Regions from separate parts of the Homo sapiens genome. Here regions 2 and 3 are each linked to region 1. Evidence: promoter capture Hi-C in human tissues and cell types (Jung and others, 2019). All regions are on one chromosome and are shown on one strand. The core of a region is centred on a gene start or on the middle of the fragment in contact, and the rest is flanking DNA. Distances in the headings are between cores, read along the strand shown.

The links. Contacts are between HindIII fragments. The study calls those that stand out against the background at their distance.
Region 2: a contact is called between a fragment that was not itself captured here and the fragment with the promoter of MROH2A in region 1, in 2 of the 25 tissues and cell types used here (mesendoderm cells and thymus).
Region 3: a contact is called between a fragment that was not itself captured here and the fragment with the promoter of MROH2A in region 1, in 1 of the 25 tissues and cell types used here (pancreas).

What each region holds. Positions count from the first base shown.
Region 1 is chr2:233,776,988-233,779,687 of GRCh38, forward strand. It overlaps MROH2A (maestro heat like repeat family member 2A), which reads left to right and starts at 1,343. Exons shown (of 42, transcript NM_001394639.1): 1 at 1,343-1,494; 2 at 2,358-2,465; 3 at 2,684-2,700. The coding sequence starts at 2,372. The HindIII fragment of the contact is 23,317 bases long and covers 1-2,700 here.
Region 2 is chr2:233,737,649-233,740,348 of GRCh38, forward strand. All of the region lies in intron 1 of UGT1A8 (UDP glucuronosyltransferase family 1 member A8), which reads left to right. The region is part of intron 1 of UGT1A10 (UDP glucuronosyltransferase family 1 member A10); the gene reads left to right. The region is part of intron 1 of UGT1A9 (UDP glucuronosyltransferase family 1 member A9); the gene reads left to right. The region is part of intron 1 of UGT1A7 (UDP glucuronosyltransferase family 1 member A7); the gene reads left to right. It also overlaps UGT1A6, UGT1A5, UGT1A4, UGT1A3 and UGT1A. Among named protein-coding and RNA genes, the nearest start is that of UGT1A3, 10 kb to the left of the region's middle. The HindIII fragment of the contact is 3,282 bases long and covers 1-2,700 here.
Region 3 is chr2:233,839,145-233,841,844 of GRCh38, forward strand. HJURP (Holliday junction recognition protein) reads right to left here. Exons shown (of 9, transcript NM_018410.5): 8 at 1,465-2,700. Among named protein-coding and RNA genes, the nearest start is that of HJURP, 14 kb to the right of the region's middle. The HindIII fragment of the contact is 5,245 bases long and covers 1-2,700 here.

The DNA.
Region 1 (2,700 bases), core at 93-2,592:
GTCATTTCAGCCAATAGCGAGCCAATGGCCAGCCCTCTAGCTGTCTGAGATACATGGGTGAGACTCTAGTTGTGCTTGGCTGGACAGAGCACAGATCCACAGACCCACGCAGGTGACTCATACACTTGTGAACTATAATAATCGGTTGTTTTCAGTCATTAAGTTTTGAGGTGGTTTGTTACACAGCAATTGCTGACACATTCACTTCTGGCTCTAAATGTATCACTTTTCATGTGTTGAGTCTGAAGACCTTCAGAGGACAGAGATGTGTTCCACCTACCCTATATCCACTGCAGCATGGAAAGCCATGCTTAGCTGCACACAGTAGGCGTGCAGTCTGGGCCTGTGGAATGGACTTGGCAACCACATCACCTCAGTGATCTTTCAAACGGAAAAGAAGGCTCAGTGGGGAGTGGGAGGAGGTAGTGCAGAGGGGCAGTCCTGTGAAAGAAGGGGCATGGGATAGCTGCTTGTGTCTATTTCATGTTGATCAATGTATCTCCAAGTGCAGAACAAGGAATAACGCAGGAATTTTATGAGGAAGAAATGTTGGGCATGATAAGAAAGCTCATTTTCTAACCATCTGAATTCCATGAAGTAGAAAGAGGCTGGTCCTGAGAGTAATGAGCTCCCTCGTATTGGAGGTGTCCAAGCACAGGCTGAGGAACTCCCATTTGGCTGGATGGGCAAACTTGGAGTGGAAATTCCACTTAAGCAACCTTGGCCCTAGATGTCTCTGAGTTTTGTTCCTGTTGTCTTGCAGTGCATAGAAAGATTTCCCAAAGGCCAATATTTCATTGTTGTACCTATGATCTGGATCATCTCTCCTAGCTATAAATGACAGGGAAATCCTTTGGGCTCCACTTTTGGTTTAGGAAATCAGGGTGCCTCCTCTCCTACCTGTCTTTGATGTTCTTTATCTTGTAAGTATTGTGCTAGTGGAAATCCAATTTCTTATCCTGCAAGTCATCCAGTCCCCGGGAAGGAGGAGTGCTCTCCCCAGGGCCTCTCAGTCTGCCCCTCCTCTCCTCTCCAACTGTCCTGACCACACCTCCCCACCCAGGGCTCACATGACTGTGTTCCCCTGGGACTTGGTTGTAAGCCATCCCCACTTCTACCATCTCCCTTTCCCAAACAGGCCCCTGTACTTCAGCACACACATGTGAATAACAGAAATGTTGAATGACAACATGATGTGGAGTTTTCACCCCAGAGCCCTGTGCACTCTTCAAAGACCTGGGTTGATAGAGACTCAGGGAGGCAGTTGGATCTCAAAGTTCCGAGGGTCTGGGATCTAACGGTGATAGTTCTAGTGAAACCCTCCCACCCTTCCAGGAGACCCATTCCTATAAGAAATATGACTGAAGAGCCCAGCTGTCTCACTTTGATAACCAATTCTTCCATTTGCATTTCCATTGATGTGTATTGGGCCAAGAGCAGAGCTTTTTCTTGTGGTTAATATCTGTTTAATCCAGAAGAAGACCCTAAGGAAAGGTCAGTATTTAGGTCCCAGAGTAGCTCTTTAAAATCCTTTAAAGGAAAAGAGAGTATGGGATAGTAAAGGGCCATGGGATGGATCTTTGAGGATCAAGGAACTTGGGACAGGAGGAGAAAGGATCTGAGAGCCTTTCTTCCACCATCTCGACATCTATGTTGGTGTTTCTCAATTTTTAAGAAGCTGTGGATGTTGAGAGAACCCCTTAAAGGAGTTATGAGAGATACTGATATGAATTTCTCATTAGCCATTAATTATCAGTGTGTAGAAGAGAGGGCGAGAGGGCTCTATTAAACTAAGGATATTATCTATTGCTGTGTAACAAATTATCATAAACTCAGTGGCTTAAAAGAACATCCATTGATTATCTCACGGTTCCACTGGCCAGGAGTCTAGGCATGGCTTTCCTTGGTCCTTTGTTTAGGGTCTCAGAGACTGCAGTCCTTTCTGGAGTTCAGCTTCCTCTTCCAAGCTCATGTGCTTATTGGAGAATTCAGTTTCTTATGGTTGTAGGACTGAGGCCCTCAGTTCCTTGCTACGTGGCCCTCACCACAGGCAGTTTGCATCATGGCTGTTTACTTTTCAAGGCCAGTAGAATGTTTCTGTTCAATCTGATAAGAGGGAATCTCATGTGGCATAGTGTGATCATGGGAATGACATCCCACCATCTTTGCCATATGATGTAATCCACTCGAGAGAGGGTCACCCATCACCTTTGCCATATTCTGTTGATTAGAAGGAAGTCACAGGTTCCACCCACACACCCTCAAGGGGATGGCTTTATGGAAGGGTGTGGGTCGTTGGGGTCATCTTAAGGTGTGTGTCACACCCCGTATTTTACAAATTCTGTTGATCTCAAAAGAGCTTGAGGAAGAGATGACTGAAGCCATTACAGAAGCAGCAGTAGCCTCAAGTGAGGAGGTGTCAGAGGAAAGAGACGACCTGGGGCCTCTTGAATTACATGACAGTGGTAAGAATGTCATCCACATTTCTGCTTTCCTGCCCCATCTCAGACACTAACTCTTTGACTGCAGCCCCAGCCTAGGTCTCCCTTTCTCCATCTGCACAGTGGACATCATACCACACATGAAGCTGGAGCTGCGCAGGTGGAGGCAAGGCCAGGGACACAAGGGCACCTCCTGTCATGGTCATTTCCACACTGCACCTGGGTGGCGTTTGTTTTCATAGGTACCTTTCAACAAGTC
Region 2 (2,700 bases), core at 46-2,545, 39 kb before region 1:
GGGAGCTGCAGATCGGAGCTGTTCCTATTTGGCCATTGGTGCTGAAGCTTCCGTTCTCCTCTCCAACACCTCCTTTTTTTTTCCTTTTCTCTTCCAGTTTTTCAATGTGAACATATTCTCTAGAGTTAACTACATTGGCTCAAATCTTCACTATCATCTCAGTGGAGCAGAACAAATTGGGAACTGTGGCACAGGTCACTCTTGCTATGCCCCTTAAGAATTCCACATTAACAAAGCTAATTTTCGAGTGTGGTAAAGAACAGGCTAGTGTATTTAGTAGTGAGTCCATTGACTGTTTCCCAACATGAGGTCACACTAGATTTAATATGGTTTGGCTCTGTGTCCCCCACCAAATCTCATCTTGAATTGTAATCCCCATAATCCCCACGTGTTGAGGACAGGACATGGTGGGAGGTCCCCACCTCCTAATCTCATCATAGTGAGTGAGTTCTTATGAGATCTGATGGTTTTATAAGGGGCCCTTATCCCTTCACTTGCAAGCTATTCCTCTTTCTCTCTTTCATGTAAGACGTGTCTTTGCCTCTCTCTCACTTTCTGCCAGGATTATAAGTTTCCTGAGGCCCCTCCAGCCACATGGAACTGGAGTCAATTAAAGCTCTTTCCTTTATAAATTACCCAGTCTTGGGTATGTCTTTATAGCAGTGTGTGAATGGACTAATACAGTAAATTGGTGTCATGGAGAGTGGGGTACTGCTATAAAACTACTTGAAAATGTGGAAGTGACTTGGAACTGGGTAACAGGCAGAGGCTGGAACAGTTTGGAGAGCTCAGAAGACAGGAAGATGTGGGAAAGTTTGGAACTTCCTGGAGACTTGTTGAACGGTTTTGACCAAAATGCTGATAATGTTGTGGACAATGAAGTCCAGGCTGAGTCTCAGATAGAGATGAGGAATCTGTTGAGAACTGGAGCAAAGGTCACTCTTGCTAAGCTTTAGCAAAGAAACTCGTGGCATTTTTGCCCCTGCCCTAGAGCTCTTTGGAACTACGAACTTGAGAGAGATGATCTGAAATTGGAACTTATGTTTAAAAGGGAAGCAGAGCATAAAAGTTTGGAAAATTTGCAGCCTGACCATGTGGTAGAAAAGAAAAACCCATTTTATGGGGAGAAATTCAAGCCAGATGCAGAAATACTAGCTAAAGAAATTTGAATAAATAAGGAGGAACCAAATGTTAATCACCAAGACAATGGGGAAAATGGCTCCAGGGCATGTCAGAGACCTTTGCAGCAGACCCTCCCATCACAGGCCTGGAGGCCTAGGAAGGAAAAATGGTGTTTTAGGCTGGGTCCAGGCCCCCACTGCTGTGTGCAGCCTCAGGACTTGGTGCCCTGTGTCCCAGTGGCTCCAGCCATGGCTAAAAGGGGCCAAGGTAGAGCTCAGGCCATTGCTTCAGAGGGTGCAAACCTCAAGCCTTGGCAGCATCGATGTGGTGTTGGGCCTGCGGGTACACAGAAGATAAGAATTTAGGTTTGGGAACCTCCACATAAATTTTAGAGGATGTAAGGAAATGCTTGGATGTCCAGGCAGACGTTTGCTGCATGGATAGAGTCCTTATAGAGAACCTCTGCTAGAGAAGGGTGGTAAAGAAATGTGAGGTTGGAGCCCCCACACAGAGTCTCCACTGGGGCACTGCCTAGTGGAGTTGTGAGAAGAAGGCCACAGTCCTTCAGAACCCAGAAGGGCAGATCCAATAGCTTGCACTGTGTGCCTGGAAGAGCCACAGACATCAATGCCACCCTCTGAAAGCAGCCAGGACGAGGGCTTTACCCTGCAAAGCCACAGGGTTGGAGCTGCCTGAGACCGTGGGAGCCCATTTCTGGCATCACCTTGATCTAGATGTGAGACATGAAGTCAAGGGAGATTATTTTGGAGCTTTAAGATTTAATGACTGCCCTGCCTGGTTTTGGACTTGCATGGGGCCTATAGCCCCTTTGTTTTGGCCAGTTTCTCCCATTTGAAATGGGAACATTTACCCAATTTCTGTACCCCCATTGTGTCTTGGAAGTTACTAACTTGTTTTTGATTTTACAGGCTCATGGGGGAAGGGACTTGACTTGTCTCAGATGAGACCTTGGACTATGGACTTTTGAGCTAGTGCTGAAATGAGTTAAGACTTTGGAGGACAGTTGGGAAGGCATGATTGGTTTTTAAATGTGAAAAGACATGAGATTTGGGATGGGCCAGAGGGCAGAATGATATGATTTGACTGTGTGTTTCCACCCAAATCTCATCTCATATTGTAATTTCCATAATCCCCATGTGTTAAGGTTGGTACCTGGTGGGAGCTGATTGAATCATATCGGCAGTTTTCCCCATGCTGTTCTTGTCATACTAAGTGAGTTCTCATGAGAGCTGATGGTTTTATAAGGGACTCTTTCTCCTTTACTCACAAGCTTTTCCTCTCTGTCTCTCGCCTGCTGCCATGTGAGACATGCCTTTGCTTATCTCTCACCTTCTGTCATGATTGTAAGTTTCCTGAGGCCTCCCCAGTCATGTGGAACTGTGAGTCAATTAAACCTCTTTCTTTTATAAATTACCCAGTCTCAGCTGCGTCTTTATAGCAGGCTGAGAATAGACTAATACAAGATTGGTGGTGATTGAAGTTATACTGAAAGGGTTTAAAGGAGAGTCTGAGAAAAGGAAATGAATCTGCATTTATTGAGAAAGTTGATGAGAAAGT
Region 3 (2,700 bases), core at 7-2,506, 62 kb after region 1:
ATACACGAAAATAACTTTGAAAACCAAAACATCCAACAAAACCTGGGAGCTTCTAGAACTGAGCCAAGGAGCCTGAGCCGCTAACCCATGAGACTGGTCTGTGTCCAGACAGCTCCCCACTGCAGCACCCACCATGTGCAGCCCCTGGGAGGGTGGGGGTTACCTGCACGGAGCAGGCAGCTGAGCGGTGGGTGGAGTCTAGGGAGGATGTCCGAGGATGCAATAGCAAAGAACTGGGGAGTAGGGGGAGAATGCCAGTGAAAGTTCCCTGGAAGGGAAGGGCTGTCCTACGGCAGACCCTGGAGCAGGTGGCCCTGAGCAGTCCAAGGGCATTGGGAAGACAGAGTGACAGTGAGAAAGGCCCCAGGGGGCTCAAGCCACAGGAGGCCGCTGGCGGTCTGAGAGTGTGGTCTCTGCCATGCACAGGCGGGACTGCAGGCTTCGAAGGCAGGCACCACAGAAGGAACAAGGCATACCAGACCTTGGTTCTGAGCTGGACGCACGGCAGGAGCCAGTGGCTGAGAAGGGCTCGCAGGCCAGGCGGGTCCAGGTGGGAGAAACAGAAAATGGGACACTTATGGCAGGCAGGGTCCACCCAAATGACCTCAGAGAAGAGGCACATCGCCAGGCTAGGGCACAAGGGAAGAGGATACTGGAGACACGGCCTCACCTGCTGGAACCACAAACACACAAAACCCAAAGGAACCGGCCAAATCAAACCCACAGTCAAGTCCCGTCCACCTGTGGGTTAAGAAAGTCGCATCCTCCAGATCCTGACTGTGGACACACAGAGAAGCTGTGCTGGGGAATCCAACCTTTAATGCCAACAAAGGTACTCACTCCCACTGACCCACCCCACCCCACTGTCTCTAGAGAAAAGGGCACACGCAGACTAAAACTCTAGCTGACATGATTCGCACAAATTAAGCTGCAGAACAAGGTGCAGAAGTTTTAACACTGAGCACTGAGATATCTGCAGGGCACCCCTCGCACCTGTGAGAATACTGTGCTCGTGGCTCTCCCAGGCCACTCTTGCTCTTTCCCTACCAGGAATCCAGAAATAGGAAGTCATTCGCTTTAGATCACTTTCGCCTTACAACAGCTATTTTCTGAGTGTCAGATGAAGAGGTTAGAAATGAAGGTTTGACAAAGACGAATAAAGCGTAGTAAGTGAGGATTTGCAGGAAAAAAGCCTCTGAATGCATTCTAATGGAAAGTGTGAAACTTCTGCAAGAGCACTTTCTGCTTTACCTCGATGCATCTTACACAGGGACACATTCTTGATAGAGACGCTGACTTTACAGGAAGGAAAAGCATTTGGGAGAAAGCTCAGAAAATGATCACGTATGTAAGAATTCGGCTGAGATTCACTAAACGTGGCGCAAAGATTCCTACCATAAAAAGCCTCTGTCCAAAGAGCAGTCACTCACATAAACCACATTCAACCAACAGAAACACACCTACCTCTCTTCTGAGTTGGGCTGTGAAGAGCTGCCCTGGTCTCCCGGTCTGACGGTGTTGTCCACCCCATCTGAGGCACCCAGGGAATTGCCCTGGCGTCCGGAGCCCTGGGGTTCTGATAGCCTGGGTCTTTTTGCAGGGAACTGATGGTCCCTCGTGCCATCCCTCGTGATGGCACGAGCAACACATGTAGATGAAGGAGCCTCAATTGCAGTTGAGCCCAGTAGACTTTTTCTGCACCCCAGGGGTGATGATGGCAACTTCTGGAAACCCTGGAAGTGAGGGTCTGGATTTAATTTTCCTAAGAAGCCTTCTGTTTGATATCGAACTTCCATACTTGCTTTATCTGTAGACACTCCAATACATAAAGGCACTGTCATCTGCCCAGGAGATTTGAGGCAATACTTTTGATGAAGCTTGTCAAATTCTTCTTTAATTTCATCGTAACGATTCCTTCCGTGGCCTGGCACTTCTTTATCTGGGACTGAAAGAGTTTTGCTGGGTGACACTGACTTTCTAAATATTCCAGAACTATTTCCCTGAACGTGAAGGTCAGATGTCTGCTGCGGGCGAGTTGCGCTGTGTGTGGGGTTGGTCTTTGGAAGTGATGAAGATGAATCGCTCTTGGGCAGGCACCTACCTGCTTCCAGAGATCTTTTGCCTAGGTTTTCAAAAGCCTCACTTAAACTTTTTGCTTTTGCTTTGCTGGAAGGTAAACTCAGCCTGCGGGTTTCTAAGCCCTGAAGGCCACCAGGACTCGCAGGACCCCCTCTGTACATGTTCATGGCCCAGGAGTCCGGGAGGCACATCCGGCGAGGCTGGTTCCTGGGACTCAGGCAATATTCCCGATGAAGCTGATCAAATCGGATTTCAATCTCCCTCTGACGGTTCTCTCCATGGCCCTGTCGTATTGTTGGTCTGGAAACTATTTTTACAGGAGAAATTAACCATTTTAATGTCCTAAATCTATTTTCCTCATCAAGATTATATGTTGCACTGGAGTCGAAGTAAATCAAGGAAGAATACTTCGAGGGTGTCACTTTGCGCTCCTTCCAACTTGGATCTAACTTATGGATTTGGGGTCTGTTGACTTCAAGAAAAGCTTTTTCCAATTTTAAACCTGTCTTACGGCAAGAAACATCTAATACGTTCTTGCAATCTCTTAATGCCCCTGTCCCTTTCACAGGCTCAGAGCAGGGTATGAAGTTCTCCTTGGAGCTCCTCTGAGAACGTCTGGCT